7 separate regions of the Homo sapiens genome follow, and all the other regions are linked to region 5. Evidence: promoter capture Hi-C in 16 types of primary human blood cells and fetal thymus (Javierre and others, 2016). All regions are on one chromosome and are shown on one strand. Each heading gives the region's core, a stretch centred on a gene start or on the middle of the fragment in contact. The rest is flanking DNA. Distances are from core to core; before and after follow the strand shown.

Region 1 (3,580 bases), core at 43-2,542, 1.1 Mb before region 5:
GTCCCTTTTGTTTAATAAAGGAAAAAATTCTGAATACATTCACACTAAAATATGATGTGAGTTAGTATTTATTTCTTTTCCACGCTTGCTTAGGAAGGCTAAGGCATAGCTGAAAGTCAGAAATGTTTACTGAGTGCTGGATTTGAGGCACAGTGGCACTTGAGAATGTCATTCTACAGTCACAGTTTTGCAGCCCTCCACAATGGGACACAACTGTGTATTTCTGAAGGCACTATCTGTTAGAGAAATGTGTTGAAAAATCAAGTTCCTGGCAAAGGAGAAAGCTGTGTCTATTAAGCAATGATTCCCAGCAAACCTTTCTCCAGGCTGATAAGTAGGTTTGGCTCTTTGAAAGCCTTCTCGTAGTCCATTAAGCAGCATGAGCATCCTCTAAGGAATAATGTTCACTGATGATCACATTGTTGATATAATTAAGGTCCCTATACATAAGGACTTTAAATACCTATTGTTGTGTTTTGTCGTTTCCTGAAATTTTTCTTTTTTGATATTTTTCTAAGCATAGGGTTCATGAAAAGGTGAATGTTAATCACAACATTTGAGAAAAGTCCCTTAGCTCATTATGTGTGATGGATATGTGAAAAATAAGCTTAAGCTATAGTCACAAATGTTTCTTGTGACTTTTTAGTTAATTATGATAACTTCCAGAAAAAGAAAAGAGAGAGTAACTTTGAATTTAGTGCTTTTTATAGGAAACCATGCACTTGCACATTTAAACATTTTGCGTTTTCCTGATTTGCATACCTATTAAAGCTTCAATTTAGCAATTTTTTTTTAGCATTTTATTATTAACAAAGCTGACAATCTGGATAAGTTCACACCTCATAGAAGTCAGCAGGGACTTTTAATGCATAAAGTATCTAAGGACTCAATTTGTGATTAATTTTTTTAAAAACTTTTTTTCAAATGTATTAAAAGGAACATACAAAACCTTTATTTTTATGTTATCTTCCTTTATTTTAAAATCCATACACAATATAAAAAGCCTAGTGCAACATCAATTTAATTTGTATAAGTTGTATGCCAAAGAAATTATGAGTCAAAAAAGATAATTTTCTTCAAAGACAGAAAAACACATGCTTAACTACAATTGCATTTTAAATACTGGAAGTTCCATTCATCTTACTCAATAGTTTATTTGCCTTTTAAAAGATTAAGATATTTAATTATGTTCATATTAACTTTGTATAGCAAACATGCATGTGATTAATGATTTTCAAAATAAAAAACTGAATTGGGGCCTTTCAACCTAATACAAACTTATTTTTAAATAAATCATTTCTTTTATTTTCTAAGGAAACTTTGTCCAATATATACAATTAAATGAATGCATATGCAATTCCGAATCAGTAATAAGTTTTGTTTTAAATAACTTTGGAGATAATTTATATATTATACTCAGCTTTCTGCAATTGATTAGATTCTACTCTAGTTTGGGAGTAATGTGATACTAAAGATGAGCTAAATATTCGTTTGTCCTGAGGCAGAAACTGGTTGAATACACAATTTTTTTTTTTTAGCTTTTCAATAACTGTTTAGGCATTGTGCAGATAGCTTAACAAGAGCTCAACTGTTTCAGCTTCTGCGGCAGCTTTGGCTACTCCAAGGGAAAAACAAATATAGTAACACAATCAAGGATAATGCATTACGCATTTCAATCTATTGTTTTAGCTTTTGTTGGCCCTCTCCTTGCCAAAGTCAACATAAAGGAACTTTAAGTCGTCAATGAAGTGCTGACAGAGAACAAATGTTGCCCCGAAGTGCCAACATATATCACTGTTTGTATATGTAAAGGCAAGCTTCTCAGTCTGTCGTTTTCATGTTGGTTTTAAGTCTGAGGCTGAACATGAACTAATACACTAGGAAATGTCAAAAAGAAGATGCTGACACTTCCACCCCAATGGCAGGCACAGAGCAGGTGCTCTCCAAATACTTACAAGTGCTGTCTTTACATTTCATGATATGTCATCGATATGCATTCTCATGTGTATAAGTATTAAATCTCATCTTTGCTTGTTATCCACAGTGCATAGAAACAGTTCTTTATGCATAAGCCACACTTCTCCTTCCCTAACATTGTTTTGCTCTTCAAAAGCCAGCATCTGATCCACTGGCCTACTTTTCCATAGCTACATTTGGAACATACCTCTCCTTGGCTCTTCAGGAAGCTTTTGGTTTTGCTCAAAACCAGCTCTGAGAGAACTGTCATCGCGATTTCCTGGGTAAGATTAATTCTAGGGCCTGCTGGTCTCTTGGCCAAGTTTATTACTAATAATAAATCACTATTCAGATACCCATTTTCTCTGTCTTACCTCTTTTTCAGTAGTCTAAGGCAATCTTCTTTAACCCTCACTGACACGATGCTCAAAATTTAATAGGTCTTGCTCCTGCCTCATCTATTCTGAGAACTCCCACTAATTTCAGTGTACATGTTCATGCCCATATAGAATTGATCGAAAGATTTTGAGGTGTTAGCCCAAGCTGGAAAATTAATGGAAGTTGAGCAGACTTTTGTGAAGGAATTAAAACAGTTGTCAACCAAGAAAAGGTAAAAGACCAGACTGCAAAGCAGTGAGGCAAGGCATTATTCAGGTTTTAGGAACTGTCATTTGGGAGACACAGATTCAGCCAAATTGTGTTCCAGAGAGAGAAAGGGGAGTAGGGATTTTATGTATGTATGTATGTATGTATGTATTTATTTTGAGATGGAGTTTCACTCTTGTCTCCCAGGCTGGAGTGCAATGGCACAATCTCGGCTCACTGAAACCTCCGCCTCCTGGGTTCAAGCGATTCTCCTGCCTCAGCCTCCTCGGTACCTGGGATTACAGTTCCCTGCCACCACGCCCAGCTAATTTTTTGTATTTTTAATAGAGATGGGGTTTCACCATGTTGGCCAGGCTGGTCTCCAACTCCTGACCTCAAGTGATCCACTTGCCTCGGCCTCCCAAGGTGCTGGGATTGCAGGCATGAGCCACGGCGCCCAGCGAGTAGGGATTTTTAAAAGGAAGCTAAGGGTGATTACACAAGTTGTTTTGAAAGACTTATCACTCATTGGTGGAGGTGGCTGGCATAGTGCATAAGTCCATAATTCATTATTTGTTGCTATTCAGGAGTCACAGCAGTGGTGAAATCCACCTGTTTTCCAGGATGTTGTGGTTGTGGCAGTTTTTCCCAGTTCAAGGGTTCACGACAAGTTCCTGGTCCCCTCCCCTCCCTTCCCCTCCCCTCCCTTTCCCTCCCCTCCCCTGCCTTCCCCTCCCCTCCCCTGCCTTCCCCTGCTCCCCTCCCCTTACTTTCCCTTTCCTTCCCCTCCCTTTTTTGCTTTTCTGGTAGAATTGCAGATCGTGTCAGTAGTCCTTTTCAGGATGGCTTCCTGACCTCCTGATTCAATTTTCGAGCTCTGAAACGGTGTCATTTTGTAGATCACATTTCAACCAACAAACAAACCAATACAAAAATCAGTCATTTCTTGGTGTGACCTACTTCACATATATGTAAATTTTAGAGCCAAATAATTTCATTTTGAAACTGTCCTCTCATCAAAATTTCTAGTTTATATAGA
Region 2 (3,531 bases), core at 355-2,854, 1.3 Mb before region 5:
TTTTATTTAGCAGTTAGAACACAGTTGTGAATTATTAATTTTGTTTTTAAGTTTTACATAAAGCATTACTAATTTTACCCATTAGCAAGGAAGAAACTGCCTAATTGGAGGTCTTGGGAGTATTGCATGCATAAAGAGACAGAATCATGCACTGTCTGCACATTTGCTCACCAGATTGAGCAATGTCCCTCCTTATGGGAGATGCTTATCTTAGGAACTCTCTGTTGCAATTCATCATTAAAACAAAGATGATATGCTTATCTCTTCCAAAGCCCAAATTTCTCAATGCTGCCTTTCTGCTGAAGTATCTTCCTATAATATTAACCATGAGTAGTGTGGGTGTTTGTTAATTTTGGAATCTGAAGGAGTGTGTTTCTGACCAGCCTTCACCATAAGCTTGTTGTGTGACCCTTGATAACCTGTACTGATCTCTTTGGATGGACTAACAGAAATTATTCAGTTTCCCAATTTACCTCACAAGGACATTGAGCAACTCAAAGTTATTCCGTCGAATACTTGTTATTTGCTGTACATTTAGCTAGCTCCAGGGGAACGGGGGGTATAAAGTAAAGACAGTGCCCTGGAAAACTTCACTAATTTCAAGATCAAAAAGAAAAACATTTTGCAAGTATGAAATATAAACCTCTCAAAGCCAAGTTTCTCATATGTTTTCTTTATACACTGAATAGTGCTTGGAATGTGGGAAGTTCTTGATAAGCCTGAGCTTTTGATATAAATTATCTCAAATAATTTCCACTTAGCCTTGACATCACTATATTATTCACATTTCACACATGAAAAAAAATTAAGCAGAGAGAGGCAAAATTGGCAGAACTGGGATTAAAACAGGTTATCTGCATAATGTTTCTAATAAAGTATATTGTTAAGATATTGCAGACACTATATCTATGTAGCAAAACTCTGAGCGAGCTCTATAATTAGTGAAAGCGTTAATGGAGGAACAATGGATAACTAAGTAATTAATGAATCTGGTAAAAATATAAATGTGATAAAAAGGAGTCCATGTAACCTCACTCAAGTTTTAACCACAAATATTTAAGGCATTATTCTTTGCCTCAGTTTTGATTTCCTTTTAGCTTCACATTCAGTATGAAGCTAAAATTTACTTGTTTCCTCTCCCAAGTTCAAGGCTAGTTCCCAGTGAAAAGTAATCCTGCATTAAGCCTCATGAAACATCCTGACGGTGGAAGATAATTTCCTCCTTTGGGAATTCCCAAGGTTTCCTGGGTCGGCCATATCACAGCTGTTTCCTGCTCACTCAGCTCTCCCTCTTCAGTTCATGGTTCTTTGTGATTTTTCCCGACTTCTGATCTTTTAATTTGAAAAGTATAACTGTCATGAAGGAGAAACTACCCTTCCCAGATTCTGATTTACAATCTCCCTATATCAAACAAGGGCATGCACGTTTTGCTGTGGACCACATACCTTAATCTTGCCCTCAGCATACTTATCTCTGTCCTTTCTTTAATGTCATTGAAACCTCTTAATTTGTCTTGTCTTAGCATTCCTGGTCATATAGCCATTTATTATCCTACACTGGGTTCATAATTTGTGAATTTTCTTCTTTTTCAGGACTGTAATCCCAGCACTTTGGGAGGCCAAGGCGGGCGGATCACGAGGTCAGGAGACAGAAACCATCCTGGCTAACACGGTGAAACCCCATCTCTACTAAAAATACAAAAAATTAGCCGGGCGTGGTCCTGTAATCCCAGGTACTGAGGAGGCTGAGGCAGGAGAATGGCATGAACCCGGGAGGCGGAGCTTACAGTGAGCCAAGATCGCGCCACTGCACTCCAGCCTGGGCGGCAGAGTGAGACTCCATCTCATAAAACAAAAAAAAAAAAAAACGAACAAAAAAAAAAAAGAAAAGAAAAAGAAAAAAAGAAAATGAGAATAGATGAGTCTTTGAAGTGTTAGTAGCAAGAGGGACTATCATCATAGTTACTAGGGCAATCAAAACTAAAACTATGCTTATAAGCTACTTAATTCTCCTGTAGACGGATGATTTCTACTGAACTGCTTTGAGATACTGAAGTACAAGACAGGATTTGCAAAAAAAACAACTCTCTCTTGTTGGCTTTCTCTATTTTGCAAAGATCTCATAATAGAACGATGGATTTTCAGGTAAATACTGTATTTAGTATTCCCTACTATGCATTAAATTTACTTGAATTTCATACCCAGAGTAGCTCATCCCTGTAGGCTCATAACCTGTTGTTTAATAGAAGAAATAATATAACTGCAAATCATCTGCCCTAACTGTTTCAATGAAGAAGCAATCATTTCTATGCTTCTTTAACAAGTATTCAAAGTGTAATCACAACAAGGCTACTTATTCAGAAACTGAAGAAGATGCTTATGTCCCTAAAGATGCTGACAATACGTTAAGACAAAAGAAGACATTCTGGAAGCACTGTCATCCTCCTTTTAGTTTTATACTACACCATTACCATGACAACCTTTCTGTCCACTCCAGTTTGAAGGTAGAAACTAATGTCAAGGGAAATTGTAGTACCACATTTGATTCAGAAATATGGAGAATTTATGCTAGCACAAAAACATGGATTTAGTTCCCTCTTTTGAGAATGAGAACAGCTTGGAAGGAATCCAGTATGGAACTTGGGCTTCTATTAAATGCCATGACCTTCAAACTTTCTCAATAGAGATGGTAGTTAGTAACTGCCTCAGAACATTTGCTGCAAACCTAGATGACTTTGAAATTTACAAATGATGAAGTAAACAAATAACAACAATAATGAAAGCTATAGAATTCAAATCTTTAAAAGCATTTTAAGCTTTGAATTAATGGTGTGTTGTATTCTGTTGTAATAACATATTTAGTATTTGATTGTGTAATCAGAATATTGAGATTATGGCAATAGTATAAATTATTCATTTTAAAGCTTTGGTATATATATTAAAATAATTAATATAGACAAGTATTACTGGGTTTTTAGAAAAATAAAACATATTGAGAGGTTTATCTAGATGTTGTAATTAAAGAAGTTATTTTCTCTTTGAATTCACTGATTGAATTCCCTTCCAGATACTACAAAGCATATTTCTGTTAATTCTCTATCCAAATAATTTTGTTACATTTCTCCCTTATGAACATGTACACCACCACCATCCAGACAGAATGTTTATATTTAATACAATGTTCTATGAATTTAAAATTATACATACATTTTTTGACTTTTGTTACTGCTGTATCAAAGCTTTATCAAATGCTTAAGTCAACTTTCAATCAATCATTACACATTCCTTTTAGTATTAGGAAGATTATCCTCTTGTTTCTTGTATTCTTTTTATTTTGTAAGTGTAAGTTCTTAATGATTCTATAAGATGCAAAATTTATCAAAATATGAAAGTCCAGTTCTGTGATCAGCCAATTTAATGGTATTAGGAAACTATTGTTTTTCTTTTCTGTATATGCATGCATACACTAACACATACACACACACACATATATATATAACATGTATGTGTGTGTATAGCATGCATGTGTGT
Region 3 (3,556 bases), core at 324-2,823, 1.5 Mb before region 5:
TTTGATTATATGCATTAAATAATATTAGATAGAATAATTGTTATATTCAAAAGACATATTAATATAAACCAATGACTTTAACAAACTATTTCAAGGAGAAATTTGTCTCCTCCACATGTATTTTTCTACACTGTTCTTCACTTGAGGATTATAGAGAGCACATTTTCAGCAAGAATCTCAGCACATCTTCTTCCTACAAATAACAATTACGATTTATGCCAGCTTATCCCTGTTGTCTTTGTTGCTTCCCAAAGGAATTCAACAAAAGCAGAAAAGATTAATGAGGGAAGTTGAAACTCGTATTATATCACATAGACTCAGAAACTTGCCAAGTTTAAAGTCAAATTAGGAACTGACATTAAACTTTGAAAAGTTGGTTGTAAAGAATAGGATAGCAACTAAAATTTACAGCAGAATAAAATGTTAGAGTCCCTAATAAATGTCCAAGGAGAACATATACTCTAAGAGAATAGACTCATTCCAAGGTTATCTTAGATTTCACAGAAACATTTCTATTAAGTTTCTATGAAAGAGAAAGATATTTTAATAATTCACATAAAAATTATATTTCTCCTGCATCACTGTAAAATTGCTTATAATTTATTATCCAGTACAATATTATAATTATAAGATTCTATGAGTTACTTATTTATTTATTTTTTCTGAGACAGGATCTCACTCTGTCACCCAGGCTGGAGTGCAGTGGCATGATCTTAACTCACTGCAGCCTCTACTTCCAGGGCTCAAGTGATACTCCCACCTCAACCTCCCAAGTAGCTGGGACCACAGGTGCATGCCACCATGCCCAGCTAATTTTTTTTTGTATTGTTTTGTAGAGACGGGGTCTTACCATGTTGTCCAGGCTGGTTTTGAACTCCTGCCTTCAAGCAACCCTCCTGCCTTGGCCTCCCAAAGTGCTGAGATTACAGGCGTGAGCCTCTGCACCCAGCTTGGGAATTATTATAGTAAAAATAGAATTGTAAAATACATAAAAACAACAAATAACATACTTTATCTAAAACAGAAGAACCATACATAAGAAGAGGTGTATATTTTCTCACTAGTTCACATACTGTCATCTCCTATGATCTAATCACCCAATTCCAGAATACTAGAGCCAGGCCTACCTTGCCTACTTAACGATAACCATGAAACAGTTAAATGGTAAAAACACAAGTTAGATATAGCAAGAGAACATGTGTCATAGCATTGTGCAGAGAGTTGCTATTTCAACAATAGTAGTAATTTCAATAAAGTAAAATAAGAAAGCTATATTCAAATTGTCAGAATTCAGAAAGTTGCTCCATGTGCCCCTGTCACCCTGAATTCTAGACCAATTTAACCCCTCCTATAATCAAAGTGATGGTGGATCATAGACACAATAACACAAATTTAAAAATGTGTCCAATTCCCATAATAAAGTAGCTGCCGCTGGTGTTTTGTGGAGCCTACAGCAAGGAAGCTTCCCATAGCTTTGCATTATGTAGATCTAACTAAGTAGCAATTGTAGTAACAAGAATTGTAGAAATTGATTTGATGAGAACTGTGTTAGTTCATTTGCATCACTGTAAAGAGATACCTGAGACTGGATAATTTATAAAGAGAAGAGGTTTATTTTGGCTCGTGGTTCTGAAGGCTGTACAAGCATGGCCCCAGCATCTACTTGGCTTCTAATGAGGTCTCAGGAAGCTTAAAATCATGGCAGAAGGTGAGGCAGGAGTCCATGTATCATACAGCGATAGAGAGAGCAAGAGGAAGAGGAAGAAGAACTAGACTCCTTTAAACACTAGCCACTGTATGAACTCAGAGCAAGAATTCACTTACTACCATGAGGAGGGCACCAAGCCATTCATGGGGGATCCACTCTAACAACTCAGATACCCCCCAGCAGTCCCCATCTCCAACATGGGGGATTACATTTCAACATGAAATTTGGAGGGGACACATATCCAAACCATATCAGAGAACTAAGGAATATTTGATGTTAGAACTGTAAGCAAAAAAATGATAGAGAAATTAAGAATCTACAGCAAAGGATAATAAATCCCTGACTCAAAGATCTGGCCTTTCAGCACAGACAGGCAGAGACAGACTTTAGCACCTCAGTGAAGCAATGAGCATTGAAGAGAAGAAAGAGCAGCAAGCTGGAGACATTTCAGCTGTACCTTGCTAGTGATAAAGAGATGGACGTTAAAAACTATATCACACTTATTAGTAAGCATGCATGTAGAAGATTGCTATGTGGCAGGCACTAATCCAAACCCACTAAAAATGTTAAGTATAATCATCTTCATAACAACCCGTGAGATAGGAACTACTATTATCCATGTTTTGCAGATGAGAAAACTGAAGCACAGAGTGGTCAAACATCTTGTCCAAGGACATAAAGCCACTACACAATCTCGTTAGGATTGGAAGCCAGGCACTGTGTCTTCAGAATCTGTGCAGTGCTGTCAACCACAATTTTAAGTGCTTGAAGAATGCTAAATGGAACTCTGCCTCAGTTTTAGCAGAGACCTCAAAAATGAGAGAAAGCAAACAAACCAACATAAGGGCTCCCTCATCCCAAAGGGAGGCACTTTGATGAATTTGTAGAAATTCTAAATCAGTTAGGGCTCATTAAGTTATGCTGCAGTAAAAAGTGACCCAGCCTTCCAGTAGTGCATCTGCAATGGATTCCTTCTTGTTCAAGTTGTCTGGTATTTCCAGTTAGGTGGGGTTTTCTCTTCATCATCTCTACTCTGAGATCTCAACTGAAGGCAAGTCCTTTGTCTAGAACATTGCCAGTTGTCATGCCAAAGAGAAAGTGGGCCCTGGTAGGTTTTGCATCTGTATTGCATGCTCCTGCCTATATGTGACTTTTGTCAGTTCTATTTACAACTCATTGGCTAGAACTAGGTACACCTAGTTACACCTAGTTACTCCACTAATCAGTAAGAGAGCTGGGAGGGCAATTTTACCATGTGCGTGGAAAGATATGGAGGGAAGGAACTTTATGGGAGAGGTGGAGAACTAGATTTTTGTGCAAACGTCAGTAATTACTACCACTACCAAGGGAGTTTAAAAGTTCTTTTAAAATACTTGACTCGTTACCCACTCAAAGTGCCCAAGAATAATGGCCAGGGAATTTGCATTTGGTGAGAGAATATCTTTAGAAAAAGCTGTTGGAATATCTTTGGATTTTCCTTACCCCTCTCTTATGGAAAAAGAAAAGAGATGCTGACTGTCCTCACTTCAAATATATGGGACTAATTGCAAAGCTTGGTCTATGTCCTCTGGAATTTCGGGACCCAATGAACTGAAGCCTGCGTCACAGTGGAGTAATCACACAAGTGAGCAGCTAACTGAAGCAGCTTGCTTCACCAGAGTAGATGACACTTGCTTCACTTATGTGATAGACAGATGTTTCTTGTGGAATAGAGAGAGAGCAAGGGAGATGCAGAAGCAGATGAGTCATTCTAGAGCCATCTTTAAGTGGTTTGCACAAGAGACCCTCCTGGAGATGCAATGAAACTTCTTGAGAGCAAGAGTGCGTGGAAATGGTCTGAGAACCAAC
Region 4 (3,283 bases), core at 94-2,593, 1.4 Mb before region 5:
GGAGAATTTCTGGACTTAATTCTCAGCCCTCTCATCCTTCTTCTCGACACTAATCTAGGTAATCTTACAAATTCTCATGACTCTCCTTACCATGAGACATGTTCCAAAGTGTCTGCAGCCCTGATGCTACATCTGAGATTCACAGTCATTTATTTCAAGCTATTCGACATCTACACTTGTCTGTCTTGTGGATATCTTAAAATTAACATGTCAGAATTGACATTATACACATACACACACCAAACACTTGAAACAATCATTAAAATAATTATCTGGCCCTCTCAAATTCTCCTATGTCACATTAAATGACATTTACTAGGTTATCAAATACAAAAAAATAAAGTGAAGTTATGTAAGATGCTGGTTTTTTCAAGCTCTTTTTCTATCTTCAAAATAAATCTCAAATCTCTCCAACTCCATTCATCACTGCAACCACTCTACAATAGCACCACCATAACAAGGCTAGGCTGACCTTCCTATTTTCACTTTTAGTATCTGAAATCGTATTTTTCAAATATATATTTCTGGAGATAGCCAGACCTAATAATAATCTGGCCCCCAGTGTTCTTATCTGTTTCCTCCAAAATACATGCTCATGAGACTACAAATTCTGTTTCTGAAAAAAAAGTAATTGTAACTAACACACTCAGTAGCCATCTAATAAAAAAATAAAATAAGAGCATTTACTGTGCATGTGTACACACATAACCTTCTTTAATCCAGATAAATAACCTCAATGTGCTACACATTTTAGTTTTTTTTTTATATTGAAAGTAAATGAATAAGCTCAAGTTTGTCAATTACCTGCTTGAGCACACATAACTTCTGTCTCTTACATACACGATGTACTTATAAAACTCAAAAAGGATTCTAACAAACTGCATGTCATAAGTATAGTAATCGTAGTTGAAACAAAACACACTTATACATATCTAGAAAATGATTGAAGACTGCTTCAGAAATAGTTTTAAAATTCAGACAATAGTGTAAAAACAATTAACACACACCCCCCAACTCAAAATTAAAATATACTCAGGCTGAATCCAAATCATAATTATATAGCCCTTAACTCTCTTTCTTTATCCTTATCATTTTTTGGTAAATGCTCATCCCTTGAACACATCTTTACAATGCTTTTTCTCTATTCCTTTTGTGCCTTGAATGTTTCTCCTCCTAAAATCTGTTTATCTCAATCTGCCCTAGCCTGAAATCCAGACCACCTACCCCAAAACATATAAAATTGGTGTGCGGGCCCCCAAGCTTGTATGTGTGTCTGAATGCATCTCAGTGTGTGTGAATTTGTGTTAATTAACTGCAGAGTCAAACTGCTATGTTTTTTCAGCCAGGCTACCTTCCCAGAGGGATTGTTTTTGTTATACCAGTTGAAAAATACGTAAATGACAGAAAGGATCTATATATGACGAATAGAAGCTTTTCATTTATAATTATTCTTATGAATAGAGTTTTAAATGAATTCTATATAACCTTTCTAAATGTCTAGAATATTGGTTATGGGGTACAATCATTTCTACTTAGACACAGTCATTGATTTTTCAAGTATTCTGTTATGCTAATGTGGTATGCTCCTTGTTCTCTCAAGTTATTCTAAGAATCACTTGAAACAGTGATGAGCAAAATCAGGCTTCTATCAAGTACTCTGCATAGGAATTTAGAGAAAGACAGAGAAGGTAAAGGGTTCACGATTTTATGATAAAAGAAGCTATACTCTCCATCAAAATTTGAGAGAAATTTATTCCTGAAAGCAAATGATAATGAGATCTCGCGCTGAAAATCTGTAAGTTTAAAAGGCAATTAGCTTGTCTATCTTATTCACCTACGGGGGCAAAAACAATTCAGTTCTCACTGTTAAAATGGATTGCAGTCCTCACTGTTAAAATGGATTGCAGTCATATTGGATTTGAAAACCTGACTTTTTAAATATTTATGAATATCCGAACCCTGCATAAGAGTAGGAAAGAGGGCACATATAATTTAGAAAACTTTCATTCAGCTGAATGACTTCATGTAGATTTTTTATTTTATTGAAACGCAGATTGAAATATAAAGTTTACTATCTCTGTTACAAAAAATCAAAATAAAAACATTTAAAATGAAAAAGTTATAGGGTACCATTTTTTTGGAAAATAGACTGTCAGAGTAATTTCTTAAGATTTGTTCTTTTATTAGAACATTCTAAATTAGAAATGCTTTTAGAGAAAAGAGTTTTAGATTATGCATTCTTAGAACCATCCTGACTGAAACACAGATGAGGGTGTTGACACACAGATCAAAGACAATGTTTTATTGTGAGAGTAAAAAGTCAACCACTAGGGAATATAATTTGTTTAATGTTAATGAAAGTATCTGTACTTAGATAAGCAGGTTGGTTGACTATATGCTTGTATACCTTAAAAACAATTTCAGCCTGGGCATACTGGTATAAAACCTGGCTATTCATAGGCAAATAATACAAATCAATTATATTTGTCCTACAATGCCCAATCTCATACTTTAAGTACATAAAATAATTATTATGTTTCGGGAATAATGTTTCGATAGTTTATTGAAAATCATGTTGATAATTTAAGTAGGTTTCTAGACCAGAAGTTGGCAACCTTTTTCATTAAAGGGCCAGACAATAAATACTTTTGGCTTTGAAGGCCATAGAGGCTGTTGCAACTATTCATCTCTGTCACTGTAGTGAAAAACATTGACAATACACAAACAATGAGCACCTGAGTTCTAATAAAACTTTATTTACAAAAACAGGTACAGGTAGTGGGCTAATCCTACTCTAGGCTACCACTAGTTATTTTTAAATGCTTTCAGAATTGCAAAGGAAGAAAAGGTCTGTAATTAACATCCTACCTAAAGCATCTCTTATTTTTTGGATATGGGAAGAAACGAAAAAACAATAAATTATAAAATACATGTGTTGAAAAGTGTTTAGCAGCCAACTGACTAATTACTACTATCCATAGCTTGTGGACTTGACTCCAGCCTCCAGGATGATTACATCATTTCAGCTTAAAACCTTGAGTGATGAAGAACTCAGTACCTAAATAGGCCTGTCTCTGTTGTCTTCAATTTTTGGACAGTTCTAATTATTAAATACTTATCATTTATGTTGTGTTCAGAAGCAACTTGCAATAGTTGAACAGTGATTCAGTGTGAACTTGCCTAACATATTGCACTTGTTTAGATATGCATAAGCTAATTTTAATTATTTAGCATCCTTAAAATTAATGGCCTGCCTTAATTTTTATCAAATAAATGTTTTTAG
Region 5 (3,072 bases), core at 193-2,692:
TATCCCTATGCTCTGCTGCCACCTTGGAAACTCAGAAGGATTTACAACGGAGTTCTGCACAGGGGAAGCTGGAAGCAGCATTCCCACAGCCTCTTCTGGGGCTGGCAAGGCTCAGAGAGGCATTTGAAATGGCTATTATTGACACCCATAGACTTGGGTATGTTTCAGAGAGAAACTATAACATCTATCTCATGGGAAAACACACTTTCTCTGTTTTTAAATAACTCCGTTTCAGCAAGATCCATGTGTGTAGCCTCTGAATACTCTATAAAGGCTCCGTATTTCTTTCTTTCTTTCCTTAGTCCGGAATGGAGACAGAAGAAAGATTCGGTTGAAGATGTCCCTGTGTGGATCTCAGTTTGCGCTCTGAGCGACGTCCTGGCTCATTTGGGTGTGACGGTGAGAGCAGAGGCGCTCTGCTGACAGTTTTTTCTTGTCTAAGCTTCCATTCCGCATCCACAATATGACTCGCCTTCCACTCCAGTTAACTTCTTGGAAGTCCAGAGCACTTAGTCAAAGCTGTTTACAAAATGCAAAGCATCTGGGCGGCCAAGGCAGAGGCTCCTGTGTTCTCTATGTAACCGCCTCCAAAAAAGCTGGGAAATTTCGCGGATCAAAATGTAGGCGCTTAAAGCTGACCCTCTGCTGTCAATGTTGGGACTTAGATACATTTTTTGCATCGTCATTCTTGTGTGTGTTTCCCGTTTATTCCATTCTAAGGCTCAGGCTCGCGCTGTTTCTCTCGCGCGCGCTGTCCCCTCTCTCCATTTCCCATTCACACATCAAACTCCGTCCTCCGCACCCCTATCTTCCCGTGTCTTCTTAGTTATGTGAATGTGTGTCATTAGGCTTACTCGGACACTGGATGGGTGAGTGGGAGGCAGCTTTTCTTGCGGTTTCATTTACACTTGGCATGGGTGGGTGGGTGCCCTCCACAATTCGTCTCGCACACGGAACACAGTTAAAATCTGTAGCTAGAACGAGTGAAAAGTTCCGAATCTTTAAAGCGCAGCTAGGACAGGAAATAATACAGGGTTGGGGGATGTGGACGGGGGCGGAGAGCAGAGAAGTAAAGGAATAAAACCAACTTCGCTGGCAACTTCAATAAATCCGGTAACTGGAGGCAAAAAATAGACTCCGAGGGCTGGGTCTGGTCCGGATGAAACGCTAGGGCTCCTTCCCTTCCTTGAATCTTGGGCGCTGGAAGCCAGCCACGGGCGTCTTGCCACGCGAGTGCCCCTAGACAGCAACACACCCACTGGAAACGCACGTGAACAAAGCTCTCGCCCCCGGGAGCCGCTGCCTGCGGTTTCCTAGTCGATCCCAGCTTCTCTAGGGAGTGTCAGGCGCACACAGGGTTAAGTTAGTTCCCTCCCTGGTAGGAGGGAGAGGAGGAGGAGGGGAAAAGCAGCATACTGTCTCAGGCTGGGTACCTTGTAGTTAGTTGTACGTTCGAAACCTGTCGCCGTCACTTGCGCGTTTGGCATTATCCATTGTCACCGCGGAGGAACGAGCGCTCGAGATATCATCAGTGCCCGCAAATCTCCGCGCCAAGGCGCTGAGCTACTCCTTTCCGAGGTGCGCCTCTGGTCCTCCGTCCCTGGTGCCCAGCAGCGGCGAGGCGGCATCTCCGCTCCCGCCGCCGTGTCCACCGAGCCCTGGGATCAGGGTGGCAGTTCTCAACGATGGGCAGGAGGGACCTCGGCGGCGACCCCTAAAACAATACCATGCCCCGGGATCCCCGCTGCTGCCGCGCCAGCGTCTTCCCTTTCCACCTCCCTGACCCTGTCGGATTCGGATGAGCCCATTGCAAGGAGAAGACGCAGCCGTCAGGTAAAAGGGGCTGCGTTGCCAGGTGAAGTTTCCAGTAACCGGCCGAGCTGCTGCTACGCTGGCACCACGCTGTCTCTTCGGGGGATTTTTTTTTTTTGAAAGAGCTGGGGGTGGTCATCTTAAGTGGGGTGCTCTAGGCTTTGTCTTTCACCTGGAGAGAAAATAGGCAGCTTAGCTCTCTCTCGACTTTGGGGACATCTGTCTGCTGGTCGAATCCACCTCCTCTACGGAGCATCATGACTGAGTTCTGGGTCAAAACGCAAATTTTCTTGCCTGGTAGATGCATCGATGCTAAATTGGGGTTCTCAGTGCCCCTAACCTTGTCAGAGTTCAGTCTCCTACTTCCCTAGATTGAATCTCTTAACTTTCACCAGTAACAACCCTCTCCCCTCCACAAGCTGTTGTTAATGTCACCAGCGTTATTATCAGGCTGTTGTATCTAAAGACACCAACCTACTACCTGCCCGTAATCTGGGATCTATTAGCAGTTAAACAGATGCGGTGGATACTAATTCCTTTTCCTTCCAGTTGGTGGGGGCGGGTGGGGCTTTTTCCAAAACCAAGTCCCTTCCAGCCCTGCTTGTCCTCTTCGGGCTGGCGGGCACTGAGCTGGGGCCATCACGCCTTTCTAGAGCGCCTGCGGAGGTGGCGAAGGCTTGGAGAGCATACGAGGCGGAATCCGGATCGAGTGAGTTCCTTGAGCCGCTTGCGTGGGACGCAGGGAGAGGGCGAATAACGCCCTCAGGCGCTGAATGCAGGGGCAAGGAGCCAGCGAGGGTGGCTGGAGCAGGCCTTGCCAGCTGTTACCAAGTCTCTCCACAGGCTTGGGGGCTTGGGGCCTCCTGGAAAGATCCCTCCGCCGCGCTGACCAGTACGGGGCTCGCTCCCGCACTTTGAAGGCTGCCGCGGTCTTTCGTCATTTATAATCAAGCCCAAGATCAAGGTTGCAAGCTGAGGTCGGGGTACTGACAACGGGAATGAAGCCATAGGGGAAGAGGATAACTGGGACGGGCTGGACCCATACTTGATACCCGGGAAACTCCTAGAGCGTGTGGTGCTCCTGCCAGCGGCAGTTACTGGTGGAGCTGAGGCCACCGCTACTGTCGTCGTTGGCGCTTTGCTTCTGGAACCTCCCAGCAAGATGGCACTCACTGTCTGTTCCCTTCCGATTAGCACCCCCAGCCGCGCTCCCTCCTCCCCGGGATACGTATTAGTCACATACTGTGGGGAGAAGATGGG
Region 6 (3,343 bases), core at 690-3,189, 1.0 Mb before region 5:
TTTTGTTCATTCAGGCCATGCTGAGTTCAATTAAAGGCAGATCCTCACTCCTCTCTCTGCAAAGATACATTCTGCTAGTGTATTTATTAATTTATTTCCAATGAATATCCTTTACCAAGTACCTACATTGTTTTGTGATAAAGAAGAAACAAAATTTGGCTCCCATTTTCAAATAATTGAAATCTCACTACAAAAACAAAATTTCTATCTAGGGAACAATTGCAGAAAAATAAAAGTAAATAATCAAGAGGTAAACTGTGTGGGACATTTAATGCACATTATAAGGAAACCTTTTTATCATATCATAGTTAAACTGCTAAAAAGTGAAGACAAATAAAGAAAATAAAACCTTGAAAACAACCAGAGGAAAAAATACATTACCTATGGGAGAGCAATGATTTGAATGCCACAAATTTCTGATTAGAAATCATGAGTCAGAAGGAAATTGCATGACATTTATAAAATACTGAAATAAAATTTAAATATCGTCAACACAGAATTCACTATTCTGCAAAAATATCTTTCAGACATAAAGGTGAATTAAATATTCTCTCAGTAAAGGAAATCAAACCTGCTCTAAAATAATTGCTGATGGAAGTTATTCAAACAGAAGCATAGTGATTCCAGAATAATATTTGAAACCTGAGAAATGAAGGCAGAACAGTAGAAATGGTAATTATCTAGGTAAATCTAGCAGACTATTTTTCTTCTCTTGAGTTCCTTAAGATATATTTGACAGTTGAAGAAAGCGAAAGTTAAAATATTTCCTCTTGGAGTTTTTAAATGTACAGAGATATAATATGTAACATAAAGGGGAGGGGTTAAAAGGACCCAAATTGTAGTAAGGTTTTACGTTCCCACTAGAAATGGTAAAATATTGAGTCTAAGTAGAATGTGAAAAGTTAAAAATTTATATATTATGGTCCCTAGAGCAGCCATGAAAATAACTATTAAAAATGATGCAGTAAAAAATGCACTAGAAAATCTAAATGGAAGACAAAAAACGTTTACGTAACTCCCCAAAGGCATGAGAATGAACAATTAGAGTACAAGTGGAAAACAAATAATAAAGTGGTAGACTTCAATTTAAACATAGCAAAAATCACATTAAATATCTAAACATACTAACTAAAAGACAGAGTATTAGAATGGATGAAAATGCCTCCATTATATGCTGTATACAAGAAACTCATCTCTAATGTAATTACGTAATTAGAATAAAGATGAAAGTATAGAAAATGATACACCATGCAAACCTGAATGAAAGCTCACACCCCTGTATTAATATGAGACAAAGTAGAATTCAGAGGAAGGAGTATTAGTAGTATCAGAGGGATTCTTGCCTAATGATAAAAGACTCATTTCACAAAAAGACATGGCAATTAATATATAATAAACATATATGTACCTAGCAACAGAGATTCCAAATACACGAAGTAGATCTGATGAAACGACTTCACAAAACTATTTGTTTCTCATCAGGTTAAATAAGTATTCACTTCATCATCTAGCAATCTCACTCCTGATTATTTACCCTAGAGAAATAAAACTTATGTTCCCATGGAAATCTGTATAGGAATGTTTATATCAACACCATTCGTAGTCACCAAAAACTGGAAACAGCGCAAATGTTCTCCACTAAGTGAATGGATAAAGAAACTGTGGTATATCCGTTAAGTGAAATATCACTCAACAATAAAGGGAATGAACTGCTGATACCCCAAATAACTTGGATGAATCTTGAATGTATTGTGCTCAAATGGCTGCATACTGTAACACTCCTCTTATATGTCATTCTTGAAAAGGTCAAAATATAGTAGTGAAGGACTCACCATTGATTCATGAATTTTAGGCCAGGAGAAAGCATGACTCTAAAGCAAGAGTGTAAGGCAAGTATGGGAAAGTGATGAACTGCTTTAAATACTAATTGTGATGGTCGTTACATGAATCTATACATTTACTAAATCTCACAAAACTTTTCACCAAAAAAATTAGTCTATTTCACTGTATGATACACTATAAATAAAATAAAATGCTGGCCAGGCGAGGTGGCTCATGTCTGTAATCCTAGCACTTTGGGAGGCCAAGGCGGGTGGATTGCCTGAGCTCAGGAGTTTGAGACCAGCCTGGGCAACATGGTGAAACCCCGTGTCTACTAAAATACAAAAGAAATTAGCCTGTAGTCCCAGCTACTCTGGAGGCTGAGGCAGGAGAAATGCTTGAACCCGGGAGGTGGAGGTTGCAGTGAGCTGAGATCGCGCCACTGCACTCCAGCCTGGGTGACAGAGCGAGACTCCGTCTCTAAAAAAAATATATAAAATAAAATAAATAAAATAGTACAGCATTAATATTTTTCAAACTGTTCTTAGGCCCATGGATTATCCTACCCCCACCCCACATGCATTACATGCCCAGTATTTCCAGGATGTGTTATCTCCATTTCTTATCTACTGATATGGGAACTAGGCATTTTCTCTGCCTAGATTCTTTTACTCTCCACTGATCTCTTTTCTCCACCTGACAAATATTGAAGTCAGAATAGGAGTTATCTTTTGGGAGAAAGGGAACATTTATATATGGGAACTCTTGAGGCTTCTGGAGTGCTGATAATGTTTGTTATCCTCATCATGGTAGTATTTAACACAGTTGGGTACATTTTCTATAAATTCATCAAGTAATCTGTGCTGTTTTCTGTATGCATAAAAAAGGCATCAAGTGAAACTTTTAAAATAGCTCTTATGCAGATTGTGAAGCCACCTAAAATGTTAAAACCCTTTAAGCCTTCCTCAACTCCCTGAAGAGTTTTGTAACTCTGATTTTAGCACACTCCTAGCAGTGGGATTGTGTCTCAGTTCTAAAACTTGTCATATATTAGGATATTTATACATGTGTACACACACGTGTGTGTGTGTGTGTGTGTCCCTCTTATGAGCTTAACTATAAGGAGAGGATTTGATCTTTCAGTTGCTGGTGCTGTCCTACCATAAGGCTGGCACCAGTAAATGTGCACTAAATAAATATTGGAAAAGAAAAGTATGTAGGACTTCCATGTTTAGTACTGCCCTACCTAGGCAATGGTTTGTTCCTCCTGGCATCTCACCCCTGGTCATCCTTTCTTACTTTAAAAATATTGGATCCTTCATTTTCCCTTTGTTTTTCTATTTGACTGCCAGTTACACTGATTTTTTTATTAATATCATGAAACTAGCCCTAGTCATATGAGATATGCACAGAAATTCATCCTGGCAGAGGTAACCCATAAGATTCTTGACATGAGAGCTCTGGTGGAGCAAACATAATGTTTCAGTATATCACAATTTTATAGGCCAGGTCACTAGAATAT
Region 7 (3,527 bases), core at 1,000-3,499, 1.5 Mb before region 5:
CAGGTTCCGTGTTTAAAATACAATTACGCAATTGACCTTTCTCCATACATCTTAGAGAACAAATCAGTTAATTTTACCCAGGCAACCTCAATGTGAAGCCTAGTCATTGCCTTAACATAACGATCCTTATCCTTTAACATAAGCCAGGATTTCACCTACTTGATACATAAAGAATCTGTTGGTTATATCTAAGGTTTAACCTACTAAGACAACAACTTTTGGGAGAAGATATTGAGTTTCCATCTACCTAGATCTGCTAATGTAAGTGTGGTCCCTCCTTACTGTACAAGAAAGAACTCAGTCTTCTGGGAACCCACTAATAGCGGAATCATGCCACCAAACATTTTCTACCACTAATATTCACCAAATCCTGTCTAGAATAACAATAACAACAAAATGTTACCTTCAGTTCCTTATTTGGCTAGACATCGTCCCTCTTCTTCCATATTCTATCTACAGAAAGAGGACACAAGGTGGTGTAATAGCTTTCTTGAGGTTTATCATACTGTAGCATTCCTGGATGGAATCACTCATCCAGCTTCACTTCTGGAATGAGAAACTTATATACAAATTTCAAAATAAATATAGTGAAATATTGTGGTTCTTCCCATCTTTGACACAAATAATGATATGACCTTGTATAATTCACTTAAATTCTAAGGGTCTTAGTTTTATCAGTCGTAACATAAAAATAGAAAGGGTTGGATGGAAAGGCTTCCAAGTCACTTTCAAATCAAACTTTTAAAAATATCTACATAACCAACTCTTTTCAAGTATTTATTCATTCATCCATTCCACAAATGATACTGAGAACCTGCTACATGATTAGCATGTTTCTAGGACCCTGCTCTCAGCAAATTTGCATTTCAGTGAAATGACAAACATACATATTAACAACAAATTAGGTTACATGAGATTATTAGATAGATAAATTATAGGAAACAAATAGGATGCAGTGATGGTGATGAGGGAGGATAACTTCTTCAATTTGATTGGATGAAGAAAGTCTCTCTGAGTAGACCTGAAGCTGAAATGAAATGACAAGGTGGAACCAGCCGTGGGATGACTGCAGGATGAGGAAGCAGTGAGTGCCCACGTACTTCGGTGGGAAGAGGAGTTTGAGGAACCTAAAAACAAGCAGTGTTGCTCATAAGCAAGAAAGACACAAGTTAAGATGGGTTAGCAAGATAGAAGCTGCAGGTAAGATCCTGCAGTCTTTGCAAAGGAGAATCGTTTCTACTTTTAAAATCAATATCAGGTGCTGAGGGGATTTTGAATTGAAGAGTGATATGGTCATATTACTTTAATGCTTGTCATCAATTGCTGCTTCACTAAGGGAAATAAATTATCAGGAAGACAATGTAGATATTCTTACCTTTTTTTTTTTTCTGGTACTTGAGTTTTTTCTGTCTTGTTTTCTTTCTCTTTCTCTTTCTCTTTTTAATTTTTTCCCCCTTACTTTGATTTCTAATTTATTTCTCATTTTCTTTTTCTTTTTATTCCCTTCATCAAGTGGTGCCTAATGTAAGTGTGGTCCCTCCTTACTGTATCATAAACAGGTATTATGGCAGAGATAATTTTCACTGAAGAGATTAAAGCTGTAGACCCCACTAGGGGTCACTTCTGACCTACTGATGAGTCCTTAATCCTGTAATTTTGCCTTGGGGTTTATAGCCAACCCAGGAGTCAGTTTTCCTTCTGATCCTATAATTTTCCACCTTCATGAACCCCCAAGGACCCAAGTCAAAGGCATTGTTATCCACATCCTCTCTGGACACAAGCCACTCCAGGAGCCAGGCAGGCTATCAAAACAGGCATGCCCCAGGTGCTTCTCTTTGTTCAGAGTAGATTGGCGCTCTCGAACTGGGAATTTGGCTCATTGACAAGAGTGGCATCATTCTGTAAAGTGGAATGTCACCGGAAAAACTGTGATTGCACAAGGAAAGCCTGGGCTGTCTGTCTGCCTCTTACTAGCAGGCTGCCTAAGGGTCCAGCATCCAGGCTTCCTGAAGCTTCCTTCAATTGTCTTCACACACACAGAGTTCAGTACCCACTTAAAGACACACAAATTTGCCCTCAGCCCCCTGCTGAAAGTGAATCTTCCTGTGATTGATTTCCAACTTGGTTGCTTCTGAAATGACACTTTAATTAATTGAAGAATGTTAGAGGCATCAAGTCTAAGTGGGTCCCTTCGGTACTCTTCCTCATGTACATTTATGTGCATATATTAAAAAATGCCCATACCCACTGTCTATATGCGCACATATATTTTGTCATCATGTCTAAAGTGAAAAGGTGAATCTGACCTTTATAGTCATTTCACTACACAAGTTGTCTGCAAGGTCCTTGGAAAGATCAAGAAAGTAGCAATTTTGCTTATACTAGATGAATTATTGAGTTGAACTTGATAATCTGTAAGATTTTTTTTTCTTTCTCTTGTACTTGAACCAAAATTGCTTTTCTAAAATTGAATGCATACCTTGTGGAAAGCTTTGATCACATTATACTTGTTTTAATTGCCTGGTACAAATGAATATGTGCATCTAATTTAATGTTATCTTCTTTCATTTTACATTGTTTTGTGGTCTAACAGGCCCTTTCACCATTTGTCTCCCTACAGTTCAGATTTACTGTTTATCTCATCTTATCAATGAGAATTCTGAGTCTCACTATGGTTAGAAACTTTCCCCAAAGTTACGTGTCTAGCACATGGCAGATCAAGGACTAAGTCTAAGATCTCCTGAATTTAATTCCAATTTAGTGCCTTATGTAACAGAATCTTCAAGCTGTGTCTGTAAAGGGCCAGGTAGTAAATATTTTTAGGCTCTTCTAGTCGTGTGTTCTCTATCACAACTGCTCAACTTTGCTACTGGAGCATAAAAACAGTAACAGTCAATATTTACATGAGCAAGCATTGCTGTGTTCTAAGAAAACTCTATTTTTGGACACTGAACTCTTAATGTTTTATAATTTTCATGTATCATGAAATACTAATCTTTCATTTTTCAACCACTTAATGGGGAAAAACATTCTTCAATCACTTGCCTTAACAAAATAGGTGGCAACTGGGATTTGGCCTATGGGCTGTAGTTTGTCAAACTATCTGTGAATGGAATTATGATCCAGACAGCTGAGACGAGTTCATTTTAGACCCTTGTGGAATGGGCAATTTAAGGTCTCTGGAACAATTCTCATCATTATAAATCATCAGCTGAGTCTTAAGAATCTGTCATCAGGGATTAATTTCTGTTACGATTTCTCTTAAAGGAGAATAAAGTGAAAATATTAATTGAGTAGAAGCAACTTAATGAGAACAGCTGAATTATATTTTTAAAAATATATAATGAAGAACATGACTTGCTTTCCTACTGAAAAAAATATTATTTATAGATTCTAGGAGTTTCTGAAGAACTCTCAGAAAAAGTCAAAGAAAAATATCAAAATCTATCATATCCCAGTTCAGTTTAATTATAATAATATATGGATCTTATGGGCACAGATAAGAATACTACTCAGGCTCTCCAAAA

The links. Contacts are between HindIII fragments. The CHiCAGO score rates a contact against its expected background, and 5 or more counts as called.
Region 1: a fragment that was not itself captured here is called in contact with the fragment with the promoter of FLRT2 in region 5 in 1 of 17 cell types (endothelial precursors); the score reaches 5.4 in endothelial precursors.
Region 2: a fragment that was not itself captured here is called in contact with the fragment with the promoter of FLRT2 in region 5 in 1 of 17 cell types (endothelial precursors); the score reaches 5.4 in endothelial precursors.
Region 3: a contact is called between a fragment that was not itself captured here and the fragment with the promoter of FLRT2 in region 5, in 1 of 17 cell types (M0 macrophages). The highest score is 9.7, in M0 macrophages.
Region 4: a contact is called between a fragment that was not itself captured here and the fragment with the promoter of FLRT2 in region 5, in 1 of 17 cell types (endothelial precursors). The highest score is 6.8, in endothelial precursors.
Region 6: a fragment that was not itself captured here is called in contact with the fragment with the promoter of FLRT2 in region 5 in 1 of 17 cell types (endothelial precursors); the score reaches 6.5 in endothelial precursors.
Region 7: a fragment that was not itself captured here is called in contact with the fragment with the promoter of FLRT2 in region 5 in 1 of 17 cell types (endothelial precursors); the score reaches 32.9 in endothelial precursors.

Annotation. Positions count from the first base shown.
Region 1 is chr14:84,441,017-84,444,596 of GRCh38, forward strand. No RefSeq gene overlaps it. Among named protein-coding and RNA genes, the nearest start is that of LINC02305, 530 kb to the left of the region's middle. RefSeq lists an enhancer at 1,381-1,952. The HindIII fragment of the contact is 1,046 bases long and covers 770-1,815 here.
Region 2 is chr14:84,272,210-84,275,740 of GRCh38, forward strand. All of the region lies in intron 1 of LOC105370603 (a long non-coding RNA gene), which reads right to left. Among named protein-coding and RNA genes, the nearest start is that of LINC02305, 360 kb to the left of the region's middle. The HindIII fragment of the contact is 2,420 bases long and covers 395-2,814 here.
Region 3 is chr14:83,989,651-83,993,206 of GRCh38, forward strand. No RefSeq gene overlaps it. Among named protein-coding and RNA genes, the nearest start is that of LINC02305, 76 kb to the left of the region's middle. The HindIII fragment of the contact is 227 bases long and covers 1,461-1,687 here.
Region 4 is chr14:84,124,153-84,127,435 of GRCh38, forward strand. No RefSeq gene overlaps it. Among named protein-coding and RNA genes, the nearest start is that of LINC02305, 210 kb to the left of the region's middle. The HindIII fragment of the contact is 171 bases long and covers 1,259-1,429 here.
Region 5 is chr14:85,528,702-85,531,773 of GRCh38, forward strand. It overlaps FLRT2 (fibronectin leucine rich transmembrane protein 2), which reads left to right and starts at 1,443. Exons shown (of 2, transcript NM_013231.6): 1 at 1,443-1,833. FLRT2-AS1 (FLRT2 antisense RNA 1) reads right to left here and starts at 2,958. Exons shown (of 2, transcript NR_184170.1): 1 at 1-2,958. The HindIII fragment of the contact is 5,870 bases long and covers 441-3,072 here.
Region 6 is chr14:84,478,349-84,481,691 of GRCh38, forward strand. No RefSeq gene overlaps it. Among named protein-coding and RNA genes, the nearest start is that of LINC02305, 560 kb to the left of the region's middle. The HindIII fragment of the contact is 3,990 bases long and covers 1-3,343 here.
Region 7 is chr14:84,005,118-84,008,644 of GRCh38, forward strand. No RefSeq gene overlaps it. Among named protein-coding and RNA genes, the nearest start is that of LINC02305, 92 kb to the left of the region's middle. The HindIII fragment of the contact is 478 bases long and covers 2,011-2,488 here.